2 separate regions of the Homo sapiens genome follow, and region 1 is linked to region 2. Evidence: promoter capture Hi-C in human tissues and cell types (Jung and others, 2019). All regions are on one chromosome and are shown on one strand. The core of a region is centred on a gene start or on the middle of the fragment in contact, and the rest is flanking DNA. Distances in the headings are between cores, read along the strand shown. Region 1 has its middle 11 kb from the start of OR1L6. Region 2 holds the start of OR1K1 (olfactory receptor family 1 subfamily K member 1).

Evidence for each region. Contacts are between HindIII fragments. The study calls those that stand out against the background at their distance.
Region 1: a fragment that was not itself captured here is called in contact with the fragment with the promoter of OR1K1 in region 2 in 4 of the 25 tissues and cell types used here (bladder, mesenchymal stem cells, mesendoderm cells and 1 more).

The regions. Positions count from the first base shown.
Region 1 is chr9:122,751,841-122,754,827 of GRCh38, forward strand. No RefSeq gene overlaps it. Among named protein-coding and RNA genes, the nearest start is that of OR1L6, 11 kb to the left of the region's middle. The HindIII fragment of the contact is 4,183 bases long and covers 1-2,987 here.
Region 2 is chr9:122,798,404-122,801,572 of GRCh38, forward strand. It overlaps OR1K1 (olfactory receptor family 1 subfamily K member 1), which reads left to right and starts at 1,720. Exons shown (of 1, transcript NM_080859.1): 1 at 1,720-2,670. The coding sequence starts at 1,720. The coding sequence ends at 2,670. The HindIII fragment of the contact is 19,122 bases long and covers 1-3,169 here.

The DNA of each region.
Region 1 (2,987 bases), core at 130-2,629, 47 kb before region 2:
TCTTAATTCTTCCCTTCATACATCCAGCATCCTCACCAAGCTGCATTTTGTATCCTAGAAAAAGCTAATGTATCAGTTAGGAAAAAGCTCGGTTGTGCTATGGAAACAATCAACCTCAAAGTCTTAGGACCTTAAAACCAAAGGTTTATTTCTCATTCACATTGTAGGTCCACCATAGAAAAGTGTAAGTGTGCTACTTATTTTCAACATGCAGAGACCCAAGATCGTGGAGCAGTCACCACTGAAAACATTAATCATCACTCTGCCAGAAGCTGAGAAAGGCTCTTGGAGGTTTCACACTGGCAGTTAAAAACTCTGGCCCAGAAGTGACCCTCACCTCTTATGACCATAACTTATTGTCTAAAACACCTCTCATGACCCCACCCAAACGCAAGGCAGCCAGGAGGCACAATCCAACTATGTCCCTCTAAGATTTTAGAAAGCCAGAAGTATTTGATAAACCGCATTCATTACTACTACCCAACTATATTAACATACAAACACATCAGTGTGAATTAGTTGCTTCATCAGTTCTCCTGGATTGTGTTATTGTCAATAACAATAGTAATGTAACACTTACACACTGTCTGGGATTTTTCTGCTTCAATTATTTCATCAAGTTCCCACAACCATCAGCTTTTCTAGGTCACAAGCTTGTGTGGCAGGACCTGACGCTGAATACAAGTTTTTTGGCCTTAAAGATTTAGTAAGAGGTGAATGGTGTCCAAGGAAATACAGGGACACCTAGGTTCCGACATCAAGGTCCCTGCTAGTGCTTTCACTACGTGCTCCTAATTATAAGGGAGTAACCAGAAAGCCAGGAAAGAAACCCAAAGCAATAACCTTCGTGTTTGTACAGGCACACCTGGTTTTCACCACTATCTCTCACTGATCATTTGGTTTGTGGGATGCTGGCCTAGAAGATATGTACCATTTCCACTTACTCAATTTATGTGCCATAGTTTTCTCATGCTCAACCAAGTTCAATTAGCTACTTCAGAATGTTAGGAATATCTATATTAAATAAATCTATTCATAAATTATATGTATATTACATATACATTAAATAAACAAATTCATTAATTATGCCACCATTAACTTATAAATCCAATTAAGTTCTTTAGTCCTGAGAACACTAACTTACTTTTTTTTTTTTAACTTATTTTAAATTCCAGGATACATGTGCAGGACGTGTAGGTTTGTTACATGGGTAAACGTGTGCTATGGTGGTTTCCTGCACCTATCAACCCATCACCTAGGTATTAAGCCCCATATGCATTAGCTATTTATCCTGATGCTCTCCCTCCCCACTCCCACCCAGACCGCAGTGTGGGTTGTTCCCCTCCCTCTGTCCATGTTTTCTCGTTGTTCAGCTCCCACTTGTAAGTGAGAATATGCAGAGTTCAGTTTTCTGTTCTTGTGTTAGTTTGCTGAGGATAATAGATTCCAGCTCCATCCATGTCCCTGCAAAGGACATGATCTTGTTCCTTTTTATAACTTCATAGTATTCCATGGTGTATATGTACCACATTTTCTTTATGCAGTGTATCATTGATGGACATTTGGGTTGATACCATGTCTTTGCTATTGTGAATAGTGCTGCAATGAACATACGTGTGCATGTATCTTTATAATAGAATAATTTATATTCCTTTGGGTATATATCCAGTAATGGCACTGCTGGGTTGAATGGTATTTGTGGTTCTAGGTCTTTGAGGAATTGGCACACTATCTTCCACAATAGTTGAACTAATTTACATTCCCACCAACAGTATAAAAGTGTTCCTATTTCTCCAGTCTCACCAGCATCTGTTGTTTCTTGACTTTTTAATAATCACCATTCTGACTGTCATGAGATGGTATCTCATGGTGGTTATGATTTGCATTTCTCTAATGACCGTGATGTTGAGCTTTCTTTCATGTTTGTTGGCCGCGTAAATGTCTTCTTTTGAGAAGTGTCTGTTTATGTCTTTTGCCCACTTTTTAATGGGGTTGTTTATTTTTTTCTTGTAAATTTTTTAAGTTCCTTGTAGATTCTGGATATTTGACCTTTGTCAGATGGATATTTCTGATCTCACATTGCCATCAGCCCCAGACTTCTTTTTCTCAACAAATGCATGGCAAAAAAAAATCATAAAAGATGTTTTATGAATAATCCTAGAGATATTACCAAAAGTGTAAAGAAAAGGAAATTCTAGATAACAATTAACCACGAGAGTGCACTTTGGGATGAAAGAGTTCCTACTCTGACCCTCAGGTAAGTCCTAAACTTCTCAGTCAGAGCTGGAGTGTTTTCTCTGTCAAAATATGAAGCTACTTCCCACAAGACATCCTGTCACTCTTCAGAAGGAAAGAACTGCCATGAGCAAGGAGTATCTACAAAGTGTAGTAAGATTTTTGCTGTCCAATCAAGAGAGTCCAGAAGTCAACCTAGAAAGTCACTAATAAGCATGAGTAAGAGGAAATAAATAGATTATGAAGGTAGATATAATCACAGGGAGGGATTTCAACAGGCCTCTGGACATCTTGTCACATTGTCTCAAATGCTGCTACATAGTCCTTGAGAGTAGACAAGGAATCTCCTTGCCAGCTCCTTGTTTCACCATATTGGTATCCAGAAGGCTGGCTGAATACAATAGAGAAATAATACCATAGGTCTCTCATTTGTTGACAAAACACAAAAAGTTTAAAAAAATGTATTGGGTTTTTCCAATGTAAGCTTATTACATATATACAAATATTTGAGATTTAGCTCAATACTGAAATAAGGGGAATTCAGTTCACTGAACATATTTTACCTGTTTATCAGAGTAAGTGATGACAATTAGGAAGAGTGTGTAGCATGAGACCCAAGAAAAAAGTAGGGAAGAGGGCAGAGTATTTCTGGCATTGAAGAATCTAATAGAGAAAACATTATCAAAGAGGAATTAAAAGGAGTAGTCATAGAATTCAAGAGAAGAGTAAATTTGAAGAGGCAGGAGCCATTA
Region 2 (3,169 bases), core at 470-2,969:
AATAGAGAAAGATGTGGAAATAAATTAAAAGATCATTTCCCTGTAAAGGTGGTTTCAGCACAGTCTTCAGCAAACCTGTGCCCTAAAATTCCTCTCAGTTACTTCAATTCTCTTCTTACAGAATTGCCCAAGATTTCTGCAATGAAATTCAGACAGGAAAAAAACTGAGACATTGAAAACAAGTTGCCTCTCTCCTTAAGAGTCAAGTCGCTATGCCTGGGCAGATGTGTCCATCTGTCCACAGGAGTTTCTCACCCTGTGATGTGCATCTGCTTGGTGCTCAGTAAGTGTTTGATTTCATGGGGAAAGTTTTCAGGGATATGAGGAGTCATTCAGATTCTCTTGTTCTTTTTTTGTGTGTGTGTGAGATGGAGTCTCACTGTGCCACCCAGGCTGGAGTGCAGTGGCACGATCTTGGCTCACTGCAACCTCTGCCTCCTGGGTTCAAGATATTCTCCTGCCCCAGCCTCCCAAGTAGCTGGGATTACAGGCACGTGACACCACACCTGGCTAATTTTTGTATTTTTTTTTTTAGTAGAGATGGGGTTTCACCACATTGGCCAGGCTGGTCTCAAACTCCTGACCTCAGGTGATCCTCCTACCTTGGCCTCCCAAAGTGCTGGGATTACAGGCACGAGCCACTGCACCCGGCCTTGTTTTGTGTTTTAAGTCTGAAAATATCTGTATTCTTTACTCACACTTGAGTAGTATTTTTGCTGAGTGAAGAATTCCAAGTTCGAAATGCTTTTTTTCAGAATTTGAATATTGTTAAACTGTTCTATAATCTACTGTTGAATTGAAACATTTGATGGCAATCTAATTACATGGATATCATCAGTTCATTGCACCCCATGCCCTTAGGAAGTACTGGAGTCTCCTCTTCATTTCCAGTGTTCTAAAATTCCACTATTTGTGTCTAGGTGTTGTGAGTTCATATTCATTTCAATGTAAACATATGTGCTCTTCAGATTTTTTTTCTAGAGTTTCTTTCTTATGTTTCTCTCCTCCATCTTGGTTTGGTTTCATTTTTTCTTTTCCAAAATAAATGTCCATTGGCCAGATCTTTCTGTGTCGAACCTCACTCTGTTTCATCTTTTCTTTCATATTTTCCTCCTTCCCTGATCTACATCTTGTGCAATATCTTTTGTTCTATTTTTGCTTAAATCACAAACTATCAAAGTTGGACGTGACCTTGCAGATGAGTTACTTCAATTCTCTTATTTCGCAGGTTGAAAGTCTAAGGCCCCACAAGGTCAGGAGATCGAGAACATCCTGGCTAACACGGTGAAACCCCGTCTCTACTAAAAAATACAAAAAAAATTAGCCGGGCGTGATGGCGGGCGCCTGTAGTCCCAGCTACTCGGGAGGCTGAGGCAGGAGAATGGCGTGAACCCAGGAGGTGGAGCTTGCAGTGAGCTGAGATCGTGCCACTGCACTCCAGCCTGGGCGACAGAGCAAGACTCCATCTCAAAAAAAAAAAAAAAAAAAGAAAAGAAAATCTAAGGCCCAGAAAGGAAGAAGGTTCAGGGAGGTGAAATGACTTGCCCATAGTCATACCTGTGCCTAGGGCCAGGGCTACCTGACTCTAAACTCTTGATATTTTCCCATGGCCAGGAAGCCTTGAACAATTTATCCCCTCACCTTTTCCGTTAGACATCGGGGAGGTGACCCATCAATAGAAAGGAGCCCTTCAGGTTCCAGGCGAATAACCAGCCTGCCATGGAGGCTGCCAATGAGTCTTCAGAGGGAATCTCATTCGTTTTATTGGGACTGACAACAAGTCCTGGACAGCAGCGGCCTCTCTTTGTGCTGTTCTTGCTCTTGTATGTGGCCAGCCTCCTGGGTAATGGACTCATTGTGGCTGCCATCCAGGCCAGTCCAGCCCTTCATGCACCCATGTACTTCCTGCTGGCCCACCTGTCCTTTGCTGACCTCTGCTTCGCCTCCGTCACTGTGCCCAAGATGTTGGCCAACTTGTTGGCCCATGACCACTCCATCTCGCTGGCTGGCTGCCTGACCCAAATGTACTTCTTCTTTGCCCTGGGGGTAACTGATAGCTGTCTTCTGGCGGCCATGGCCTATGACTGCTACGTGGCCATCCGGCACCCCCTCCCCTATGCCACGAGGATGTCCCGGGCCATGTGCGCAGCCCTGGTGGGAATGGCATGGCTGGTGTCCCACGTCCACTCCCTCCTGTATATCCTGCTCATGGCTCGCTTGTCCTTCTGTGCTTCCCACCAAGTGCCCCACTTCTTCTGTGACCACCAGCCTCTCTTAAGGCTCTCGTGCTCTGACACCCACCACATCCAGCTGCTCATCTTCACCGAGGGCGCCGCAGTGGTGGTCACTCCCTTCCTGCTCATCCTCGCCTCCTATGGGGCCATCGCAGCTGCCGTGCTCCAGCTGCCCTCAGCCTCTGGGAGGCTCCGGGCTGTGTCCACCTGTGGCTCCCACCTGGCTGTGGTGAGCCTCTTCTATGGGACAGTCATTGCAGTCTACTTCCAGGCCACATCCCGACGCGAGGCAGAGTGGGGCCGTGTGGCCACTGTCATGTACACTGTAGTCACCCCCATGCTGAACCCCATCATCTACAGCCTCTGGAATCGCGATGTACAGGGGGCACTCCGAGCCCTTCTCATTGGGCGAAGGATCTCAGCTAGTGACTCCTGAGGGCAGGACCCCACTGAGGACAGACTGCATCACCCACACTGGCAACTGTTGAACGTGACCCTCTGTCCTCTGCTATGCTCAAAAATCATAACAGCTGTCATTTCCTGAGCACCTGCCCGGAAGCAGATCCTTGCCTGATCTCATTTTATTCCCACAGCCACCCAGGATGCAGATATTATGATCCGGTTTTACACACAAGAAAATTTGTCTTTAGGCTCAAAGATAAGAAGTGACTTTCCAGCCAGGCACAGCGGCTCACGCCTGTAATCCCAGCACTTTGAGAAGCCGAGGTGGTGGATCACCTGAGGTCGAGAGTTCAAGATCAGCCTGGCCAACATGGCGAAACCCTGTCTCTATTACAAATACCAAAATTAGCCAAGCATGGCGGCGCACAACTGTAATCCCATCTACTCGGGAGACTGAGGCAAGAGAATCACTTGAACCCAAAAGATGAAGATTGAAGTGAGCTAAGATTGTGCCACTGAGCTCCAGCCTGGGC